Regions from separate parts of the Homo sapiens genome. Here all the other regions are linked to region 1. The links are contacts of gene promoters, found by promoter capture Hi-C in blood cells and fetal thymus (Javierre and others, 2016). All regions are on one chromosome and are shown on one strand. Each heading gives the region's core, a stretch centred on a gene start or on the middle of the fragment in contact. The rest is flanking DNA. Distances are from core to core; before and after follow the strand shown.

Region 1 (3,616 bases), core at 806-3,305:
CTACTCGGGAGGCTGAGGCAGGAGAATCGCTTGAACAGAGGAGACAGAGGTTGCAGTGAGCCGAGATGGCACCATTGCACTCCATCCCGAGTGACAGAGTGAGACTGTCTCAAAAAAACAAAAACAAATAATTCAACTTCCTCGCATGGACCTTGTACTGAAACAGGGATTTCCAAACCTTTCTTTGTAGCCACTGTGCACCAGCCCCATCAGAGCTCTGTCTCTCTCCTGTGTCCCTCTCTTATGATGCCAGGCTTCTCGCCATTTGCTCACTCAGCTCACCGTCCTGCCTGTGCTCTGCCTTCATCCTGCTGTTCATTCATGCAGCAAATATTAACTGAGCAGCTGCCCTGAGCCACGTGCTGTTACTAGGCCCCTGATGATACGGCAGCAACCAAAACAACATCACTATCTCAAAATGTTTACATTCTAGTGAAGGAGACAGATACATACAAATAATTAAACAGACATACTTGAGAGAGATACATGCTATAAAGAAAATACAAGCTGAGTTAAGGAGATGAGTGGTATTATTTTAAACAAGGCTGTCAGGGACGTCATCTCTGGAGGTGATGCTTGAGCAGAGACTGGAATAAAGTGCTCAAGTACTGGTTGAATTAGACGCGACTGGAACAGAACGAGAAGCTAAATCATGTATATCCTTAGACACCAAAGTCTGGTTTTCTCTCTGTGTAACATGGGATCAGTAGAGTGAGTAGAGGAAGGACATGATCTGAGTTAGATTTTTTTTTTTTTTTTTGAGACGGAGTCTCGCTCTGTCGCCCAGGCTGGAGTGCAGTGGCACAATCTCGGCTCACCACAACCTCCGCCTCCTGGGTTCAAGCAATTCTCCTGCCTCAGCCTCCCAAGTAGCTGAGACTATAGGCGCGCGCCACCACGCCTGGCTAATTTTTTTATATTTTTAGTAGAGACGGGGTTTCACCATGTTGGCCAGGCTGGTCTCGAACTCCTGACCGGTGATGCGCCCGCCTCGGGCCCCCAAAGTACTGGGAGTACAGGCGTGAGCCACTGCGCCCAGCCCTGAGTTAGATTTTAAGAAGATCTCTCTGGCTGCTGTATTGAGAATAAAGTACTGGGGGCAAGAGTTGACACAGAGGCAACTTTTAGAAGGCTACTGCAATAATTCAGCCCGAGTAATCGTGGCTTGTGGGAGAAGTGTAGGAATGGAGATGAGAAGTCAGATTTAGGATATATTGTGTATACATAACGGAGAGGTGTAGTCAGAACAGATGTGGAAGCAAGACAGGGCAAGGCTGACTCACGGCTTTTAGTCTGAGCAGCTGAGTAAAAATGGTACCGTTTACATCAAATAGGGAACGGTGGTGAAGGAGCAGGTTAGAGGGGAAACAGGGAGCATGGCTTTGGACCCTTAACGTTTGAGATTCGACAGAAACCCTGGTTCACGGAATTGATCCAAGCTACATACTGATAATTGGGATTAGTGAGTTACAATGGCGTTGCAAGCCATGAAACTGGTTCAGACCGGCTGAATGAGCGGGACAGGAAGGGGCTGAAACACTTGAGTCCTTGTGAGAGCCCCAGCTCCAGGGGCAGCCTCGGGGGAAGCTCCCCGGGCGATGACTGCGGTAATGGAGCCGTAGGAGCTCCACGAGGTGCAGGTTCAGCGTCTTAGAAGGATGAGCAGCGGCTCGCCACAGCTCGGAGGCGGGTGGGCAGCGCTCCAGGCCGAGGGCCCCGCGTCGGCAAAGACACAGGACCCACGACAAGGCGGCCACGGCCTGAGTCAAAAGGAAGGCCGCGCGCCTCCTCTCCAGCCCGCAGCAAGCGGGTGCCACGAGGCACTCAGCCGGTCCCCGAAGTTCCTCTCACGCGGCCCCAAGACCACCACCGTAGTCCAGGCCAACAAGCGCTGCCGGGACTCCCGAGGCCACGAATGAGCCGGGAGCCACCAGTAGCCGGCCAAGTCTCGCGAGAGCGCGGCCTCGCCCTCCCAGCATGCCCCGCGCCGCCGCCGCTGCCGCCGCCGCCGCCGCCGCCGCGCCGCGGCTTGAGGGCGGGAGGCTGGGGGAGGGTAGCGGAGCCGGCGCCGCCGCCATGTTGGGTCTGAAGCGGCTGCTGTAGGCGCCGACGGAGCGAGCGGGCGTGCGGAGCGGGCGACAGTGGCGTGGGATCTGCCTCTCTGCGAGCAGCTGGGAGCGGCGGCGGCGGCGCCATGAGCGGGGGCACCCCTTACATCGGCAGCAAGATCAGCCTCATCTCCAAGGCGGAGATCCGCTACGAGGGCATCCTCTACACCATCGACACCGAAAACTCCACCGTAGCCCTTGCCAAAGGTACGCGGGACCGGGCCTCAGGGTGGGGGCCGAGCCGGGCGCCGCTCGGGGCTGCTCCCCGCTCCGGCCCGCGGCCTCCTCGTTCCCTCCCCTCCCTCCGTCGAGCTCCGGGAGGCCTCTCGCCTCCCTTCTCCGGGCCCCGGCGTCGCGGGCCGGACCGCGGCCTCCCCGCGGCTCCCTGGTTTCCGCCCCCCGGAATGTCCGCGCCTGAAGCCCGGGGAACTACGGGACTGAGTGCGCGGCGGGCGGCCCTGAAGTCCGAGAACGGGCCGGAGAACACGGAGAAACGCGTCTTCCAACTCCGAAATTCGGGGCTTCTGCCGTCTTAGCACAAAACAAAGCCGGAGTATTCAAAGAATTTTTCCGCCCAGCTTGAGTTCATCGCGGATGCGTTGACTACACAGCACCCATTTTCTCACTTTGTTCATTTCAATTCGTGGCGATCTTCCTCTGGTGAACTCTTGAGTAATGTGCTAAAACTTTGGGTTTGCTCTGCGACGCAGACATTCTCGAAATGCCATCGATGCCGTGGAGCAGATCCCATCTCCCTCGGCTCATCCTCTGTTGGTATTTACCTGTTAAACCGGAATCCTCAAAGCCTGTTGTGCAACCACCTCATTAGGGCGCGTGGTAAAAATGCTTGCTGCTGCCCCGACGCCCCTGTTTCTGGAAACGGGTTCAAGCTTGATCCAGGATCCTTCTTGACCAGGCAAGCTTGACCTTTGATCCAGGCTCAGTGGGCGTTGACTGATCCCTCTGGAGGCTCTCTGGGAAAGGGAATTCGGCCGAGAAGGAAGGTGCCCCTACCCACAGTGTTAATATTTGGCATCCCTAGAGTCTGTGTGGGTTTTGTTTCCGTTCACACGTGCAGGGCCTTTGCTCCGCCAGGAAACCAGAAAGAAAATAAACTTTAGCTCCTGAATCTTAAAGGAAATCTCACAACAGTGTAAAATACTTTGAGGGAAGCTAGATAACCTAGGTGATTTTCCCAGCACTTCTGGTAGAGGTGGGAACTGCATAGCATGGTTAGGGACCCTGTGGATAGGTTAGGTCCAAGGATAAAGAAGAAGATTTTCGAAATCTGTAAAATTTTAAAAATCGTTAACAGATAGGGGAGTGGTTTCACGGGATCAAGTATTTAATAATATTTCTTGGATGCTCTGGTAAATCCTTTATTTATTTATTTATTTATTTATTTTTCTAAGATGGAGTTTAGCTCTTTTTGCTCAGGCTGGAGTGCAAAGGCAATGATTTCGGCTCACTGCAACGTCCGCCTCCCGGGTTCAAGTGATTCTCCTGCC
Region 2 (3,616 bases), core at 442-2,941, 350 kb before region 1:
ACGCAGACCAGATCTCGCGGGGGTGGGCTGGGAGGCGCCCGCCAGAGGCCGGAGGCTGACAGTGCCTTTCCTATCCTATGGGTCTATTGTGGGCCCGCGGAGCCCCCATGGGTGGGTCCATCCCCGGGCCCAGTGAGTCACTTCCCCAGGCCCCGGAGGCCTTCGTGGAAGGTGCCTCCCTTTCCGGCAAAGCATCCTTTGTTCTCCTGCTGGCTTTGCTTCCCAATCCTCTCTGAGTTGCAACCTTGAGGGTTTTAGGGGCACCAAGCTCCCAGGAGCACAGAGGTGGGCTTGGGTGCCACCTGGAGAGCGGGCTGCAGAAGGCTGCAGCTGCTTTTTTGCTTCCTCAGTTCCCTGCCCTCTCAAGGCCCAGGCTCTCCCACCTCCCCAGACGTCTGGGGAAACCCACACTGCCCTGCATAGGTTGTGGTGTGCAGCCTCCGGACTGCAGATCCTGAACGCGCATCAGGAGGGAGGGAGGGAGGTTTCGATGCTCTCGCCCTGGCCAGCACCGCTCTGAGTTGCTGAACTGGCCTCAAGGCTTCTCTTGCATCAGGGAGAGGCTTCCGGCACCACCACTGGCACTCCTCCTTCTCCCTCCCTTTAGCCTCCCCCAGTTCCCATGCCCAGGTGGAGGAACCCGTGTAGAAGCCCAGCCCAGGGAGGGAATTCATCAAAGCACCTTCCCACACAGCCTCTAGTTTGCCTCCTCTCCACTCCCACCTTCCAGCCCCAGCCTGGCTAGCCACGTGGGGGGCTCCTGTGCCAAGGAGTGCCCAGCTGCCGGGTGAGTGAGCAGCCCTGCACAGAAGGCAGCTGACTACCATACACACTACATGTGTGGAGAGCACCAGCCTTGCAGCCTGGCGAGGCTCTTGCTTTGAAGAAATAGAAGACTAATTATTTTATTTATTTATTTATTTATTTATTTATTTATTTATTTATTTATTTTTGAGATGGAGTCTTGCTCTGCCACCCAGGCTGGAGTGCATTGGTGTGATCTTGGCTCACTGCAACCTCCACCTCCCAGGTTCAAGTGATTCTCCTGCCTCAGCCTCCCGAGTAGCTGGGATTACAGGCGCCCACAACCACGCCTAGTTAATTTTTGTGTTTTTAGTATATGTGCTGCTGAAGTGAGCATGAATTTTTGTGTTTTTAGTACAGATGGGGTTTCACCATGTTGGACAGGCTGGTCTTGAACTCCTGACCTCAAGTGATCTACCCTCCTTGGCTTCCCAAAGTGCTGAGATTACAGGTGTGAACCACGGCACCCAGCCAGAAAACTAATTTCAAAACAAAAACAAAAGCACCCCTGTATGCACAGATTCTCAAATTGTATTTACTATTGGCAAAGAAAGGAAGGGGGCCCCTTAGTGTCCTAAAACCAGGAGAGATGAAATCGATTATGGAACATCAGTTGATGAAATACATTTATCCTTCCACAAATATCTACTGAGTGTCTACAATCAGCCTGGTTACTGGAGGCCAGGCTCTGAGTCGTGAGTGTCCCATGAATCACCAGCTCTCCAAACCCTGACATCTAACACCACCCACTTCCCACCCTCCCCAGGAAGAAACAATATTTAATAGTTTCATTTACACAGAAAAAGAAGGTGCAAGCTCTCTCCCTAAGGAAGAGCCAAAAAGCAGCCTCAACTGGCTCCAGAGCCTGTGCTCCTGGATTAAGAACAGAGATCAGTGTATTGGTTTCCTCTTGTGGCTATGACAAGTTACCACTAATGTGGCTTAGAAAAATACTATTTTTTTTTCTTTTTCTTTTTGTAGAGACAGGTCTCCCTATGATGCCCAGGCTGGTCTTGAACTCCTGGACTCAAGCGATCCTCCCACCTTGGCCTCTCAAAGTGCTGGGATAACAGGTGTGAGCCACCATGCCTAGCCCAACACTGATTTTAAGATGATATATTTTCATCTTACAGTTCCAGATGTCAGAAGTCTGACATGGGTCACACTGGGCTAAAATCAAGGTGTCAACAGAGCTGCTCTCCTTTCTGGAGCTCTAGGGGAGAATCTTTCCTTGTCCTTTCCAGCTTCTAGAGGCTGCCTTCATTCTGTAGCTTGTGGTCCCTTCCTTCATCCCCAAAACCAGAAGTGTAGCATCTTTAGATCCCCTCACCCTTGTTTTTCTGGACTCTAGTGATTCCATTGCCCACCCTCCACCCTGCAGATAATCTCCCTATTTTAAGGTCTACTAATTCACCTTAATTCCATTGGCAATCTTAAACCCCTTTGCCACATAACCTAAGATACTCACAGATCCCAGGTTTAGGATGTGGACATATTTGGTGGCATTATTCTGCCTGCCACATCTAGGTAGCAACTTTATCTACTCAAACAATTGTTATTGAACACATGCCCTCTTTCAGGCACTAGGATATAGTAGTGAATGAATACAGAAAAGCCCCAATCTTGTGGAGCTTACACTCCAGTGAAGAGAGATGGACAAGAAACAAAAGTAAGGCTGGGTGCGGTGGGTCACACCTATAATCCCAGCACTTTGAGAGGCCCAGGTGGGAGGATCGCTTGAGCCCAGGAGTTTGAGACCAGCCTGGGCAACATAGGGAAACCTCATCTCTCCAAAAAAAAAAAAAAAAAAAAAAAAATTTGCCAGGTGTGGTGGCATGCACCTGTGGTCTCAGCTAATCCAGAGGCTGAAGTGAGAGGATTGCTTGAGGCTGTTGAAGCTGCAGTGAGCTATGATCACGCCACTGAACTCCAGCCTGGGTGACAGAGCAAGACCCTGTCTCAAAAAAGAAAAACAAAAAATAAACAACAAAAACCCAATAACAAAAATAAGTAAAATGTGTCATAGGTTAAATAGTGCTAAAAATAAAGCAAGGAAGGGGAATAGGAGTGTGTGTGTTGCTATTTTGGACAGTATGCTGGACATCTCCCATTTACCCTGCCCCCTGCCCTGGGCCTGGAAGCTGACATTGTGAACAGTGTGAAGGGGCTCCCTTACCCTCTGGCTTCCTGTTGGGCATGGCTGATGGGAAGCATCTTCAGGAGACTGGAGGGCAGAAGGCAAGTCAGCCTCTCTCATCACTCATCTAAAGACCTCAGCCCTGGGCCAGGCCCAGTGGCTTATTGCCTGTAATCCCAGCACTTTGGGAGGCCAAGGTGGAAGGATTGCTTGAGTCCAGAAGTTGGAGACCATCATGGGCAATATAGCAAGAACCTGTCTCTATTTAAAAAAAAATAAAGAAATATTTCTTAACGGGTATGGTGACATATACCTGTAGTCCCAGCTACTTGGGAGGCTGAGGCAGGAGGATCCCTTGAGCCCAGGAGTTTGATGCTGCAGTGAGCTATGATCATGCCACTGCATGCCCACTGCCTGGGCAACAGAGCGAGACCCTGGTTCTAAAAAAAAAAAAAAAAAAAAGAACATAAAATAAATAAATAACAAAGACTTCAGCCCCTGCCAGAGGCTTTTCTCACACAGCCCACCTGGCTCTGAGAATACCTCTCCATTCTCCCCTTCCAGCCTAGGGATGGTAACTATGGTTGGCTATACTACCCCTGAGAGGACTCATTACCCCTGATTTCTATATACCCTGCCCTCACCTTTGTAAATACAGGTTGAGTATCCCTCATC
Region 3 (3,616 bases), core at 312-2,811, 280 kb after region 1:
ATGTATTCAGACCACAAACCTGCACGTGCCCTATGTTATTGTCATGAATTATATGGGAAGATACTCCTCCCCCTCCACTAAGCACCAAGTTTAAGATCATTTTTATGGAGAAAGTATTTTTCTCCTCTCTTTTCAGGTCCTTGCTTTGTGTAAGGGTCTCCTGTTTTAAGAGTTCCTACCTTAGTGGTGGGTGGGGTAGGTGTATCTCTTAAGGCTAACACTACTTGGATGTTCTCTTTGGATTCCTTCCTTCGATGTTGTGTCTGCAGACACTTCGCTTTCTTACCAGCTCAAGAAGGCTTCCTAGGAAATACTAGCCAATACTTTGACTGTTGTTTAGGTTCTCCTTTTTATCATTGAAATAAAAAGACCTGTTTACCTTCAGAAATTTCAAAAAATATCTAGTTTGCAATGGTACTGTTATTTTGCAGTGTCATTGATGCACACTTACTTTTTTTTATCTTTTGAGACGGAGTCTAGCTCTGTTGCCCAGGCTGGAGTGCAGTGGCACAATCTTGGCTCACTGCAACCTCCACCTCCCAGGATCAAGCGATTCTCCTGTCTCAGCCTCCTCAGTAGCTAGGATTACAGGTGCATGCCACCATGCCGGCTAATTTTTGTATTTTTAGTAGAGACGGGTTTCACTATGTTGGTTAGGCTGGTCTCGAACTCCTGACCTCATGATCCGCCCACCTCGGCCTCCCAAAGTGCTGGGATTACAGGCATACAGGCATGAGCCACTGCGCCCGGCCTTTTTTTTTTAAACTGATGGGGTCTTGCTATGTTGTCCGGGTTGGTCCTGAACTCCTGGGCTCAAGCAGTCCTCCCACCTTGGCCCCCCAAAGTGCTGGGATTACAGGTGTGAGCCACTGCACTTGGCCCGATGCGCTCTTTTTTTCCTTTTCTTTTTCTTTTTTTTTTTTTTTTTTGAGGTGGAATCTTGCTCTCACCCAGGCTGGAGTACAGTGGAGTACAGTGATGTGATCTCGGCTCACTGCAACCTCCACCTGCTGGGTTCTAGCGATTCTCCTGCCTCAGCCTCTCAAGTAGCTGGGATTACTGGCACATGCCACCACACCTGGCTAATTTTTGTATTATTAGTAGAGACGGTGTTTCACCTGTTGCCCAGATTGGTCTCAAACTCCTGGCCTGAAGTGATCCGCCCTTCTCAGCCTCCCAGAGTACTGGGATTTCAGGCGTGAGCTATTGCGCCCAGCCTCGATGCACTCTTAAAATATTTTATTTTCATGAAATTTCAGTTTGAAGGAACAGAATCAAATTGCCCAGTCTGCCATCTTGATTTAGTTTTCTATTTAAACTTTTATTGTATATGTTATATTTTTAATTTCTAAGAACTTTATTTTTTGGTATCTTTTTTTTGAGATGGAGTCTTGCTCTGTCACCCAGGCTAGAGTGCAGTGGCGCGATCTCAGCTCACTGCAACCTCCACCTCCCAAGTAGAAGTGATTCTCCTGCCTCAGCCTCCCCAGTAGCTGGGATTACAGGCGGGTGCCACCACGCCTGGCTAATTTTTGTAGTTTTAGGAGAGACAGGGTTTTACCATGTTAGCCAGGCTGGTCATGAACTCCTGACCTCAGGTGATCTGCCCACCTTGGCCTCCCAAAGTGCTAGAATTACAGGAGTGAGCCACCGTTCCTGGCCGATACCCAGTTTTTAAATTATTTAAAAAAAATTTTTTATAGCAGCCTGAAGCTGTAGTATCCCTTTGAGCTCACCAACAGTACTAATTACTGAACTTATTAAAATGTCTGTTATTTCCCATCACATCCTTCCGGTTTCTTTGCCTGCTTAGCTCCATGCCACTCTTGGACTATTAATAGTAATATATCTGGCCGGGCACGATGGCTCACACGTGTAATCCCAGCTCTTTGGGAGGCCGAGGCAGGCAGATCACCTGAGATTGGAAGTTCGAGACTAGCCTGACTAACGTGGAGAAACCTGGTCTCTACTAAAAAAAAAAAAAATATATATATATATATATATATATATATATATATAAAATTAGCTGGGCATGGTGGTGCATGTTTGTAATCCCAGCTACTCAGGAGGCTGAGGCAGGAGAATCACTTGAACCTGGGAGGCGGAAGTTGCATTAAGCCGAGATCGCGCCATTGCACTCCAGCCTGGCAACAAGAGCGAAACTCTGCCTCAAGAAAAAATATAGTAATATATCTGGATTTCATTTTTTTACATTTGCAAATGAATTCCAGCCTGGATTAATGTTAGCCCAGGTATTAATAGTGGTAGCAATTGCTTTTATTATTGTCAGTTTCCCTTAGCACACTTACCTTCCCGGTGAAGCCCAAAATCAAACAAATCTTTCTCCCTCTGTAGCCTGCTTGGCCTGGGCAGTTTGCTTCTAGCCCTTCCACCTACCAGTATTCATTGTACGGAGAAGCTATTTTACAGAGGACGGCTTTAGTGTCTCTTGAGGGATTTAGTTCTGTATTCTCAGGGGAATCCGTAGAGTACTCCTTTAGAATTCATTCCTCTTAGCAGACTCAACACTACATTGTAGTCACAAGATAAAGGTTTGTGTCTCAGCTTCTTGTCTTCTGACATTTGTTGTTTCTGTTGGATCTTGCTAGTGTTTTCTAAACTTTAGTAGAAGCAGGAGCTTGGAGCTTTTCTTAATTTCAGTGTAATTTGTATATTTGCCTTGGTTCTTAATTATTTTTTTGTTTAGTATTAGAGAAATGGTAAATAGGTACATATACTGCCAGAAATACATTTTTTTCCCTCATTATATAAATGTTATTCTAATCAGAAAATTTGGGAAGGCAGTGATGTTGATTCTAGACAACTGTGAAAGGCACTATCGTTAACTGGAGAAATTAATGTGTTGGTCTTGTCAGGAGATTGCTTGCTTGATAAGAATAGCCTCAGGGAGGGACACCAGCTGCTGATACAATGATGGCACCACAGATTAACATGCCTGTGCCCTTACTCTTGCCAAATCAGGTTGCAGAAGAACGCGGAGTCTTATATAATACAAGGAGATGTCTTTTCAGCAAGCCTAGCTAGCCTAGCCTTTAGCTGATTAGAAAAGAAGGTTGAGGCCGGGCGCGGTGGCTCACGCCTGTAATCCCAGCACTTTGGGAGGCCGAGGCGGGCGGATCACGAGGTCAGGAGATCGAGACCATCCTGGCTAACACGGTGAAACCCCGTCTCTACTAAAAAAAAAATACAAAAAATTAGCCGGGCGAGGTGGCGGGCGCCTGTAGTCCCAGCTACTCGGGAGGCTGAGGCAGGAGAATGGCGTGAACCCCAGGGGGCGGAGCCTGCAGTGAGCCGAGATTGCGCCACTGCACTCCAGCCTGGGCGACAGCAAGACTCCGTCTCAAAAAAAAAAAAAAAAAAAAAAAAAAAAAAAAAAGAAGGTTGAAAAACCAGGTTCCTAAAAAGGTCATGATTTTCCTGATCCATTTTGCCATCTGGACGGGAATTTTTAAGTCATTTTTTATTGGATATCTGGTAAACGAGATTTTAGATTGTATGGCGTATAAAATTACAGCACGTTTCCGATTTCTGCCTGTTATTTCTCCTCCAAAGATTTTTTTGAATAAACAACCAAACCCAAGAAAGAAGCTTCTTG

Evidence for each region. Contacts are between HindIII fragments. The CHiCAGO score rates a contact against its expected background, and 5 or more counts as called.
Region 2: a contact is called between a fragment that was not itself captured here and the fragment with the promoter of LSM14A in region 1, in 2 of 17 cell types (monocytes and erythroblasts). The highest score is 6.4, in monocytes.
Region 3: a fragment that was not itself captured here is called in contact with the fragment with the promoter of LSM14A in region 1 in 1 of 17 cell types (naive CD4 T cells); the score reaches 5.5 in naive CD4 T cells.

The regions. Positions count from the first base shown.
Region 1 is chr19:34,170,449-34,174,064 of GRCh38, forward strand. It overlaps LSM14A (LSM14A mRNA processing body assembly factor), which reads left to right and starts at 2,056. Exons shown (of 10, transcript NM_015578.4): 1 at 2,056-2,315. The coding sequence starts at 2,195. The HindIII fragment of the contact is 4,496 bases long and covers 1-2,996 here.
Region 2 is chr19:33,820,562-33,824,177 of GRCh38, forward strand. No RefSeq gene overlaps it. Among named protein-coding and RNA genes, the nearest start is that of KCTD15, 26 kb to the left of the region's middle. RefSeq lists an enhancer at 1-767. The HindIII fragment of the contact is 5,420 bases long and covers 1-3,616 here.
Region 3 is chr19:34,455,196-34,458,811 of GRCh38, forward strand. UBA2 (ubiquitin like modifier activating enzyme 2) reads left to right here. Exons shown (of 17, transcript NM_005499.3): 13 at 3,574-3,616. Among named protein-coding and RNA genes, the nearest start is that of WTIP, 25 kb to the right of the region's middle. The HindIII fragment of the contact is 4,092 bases long and covers 1-3,607 here.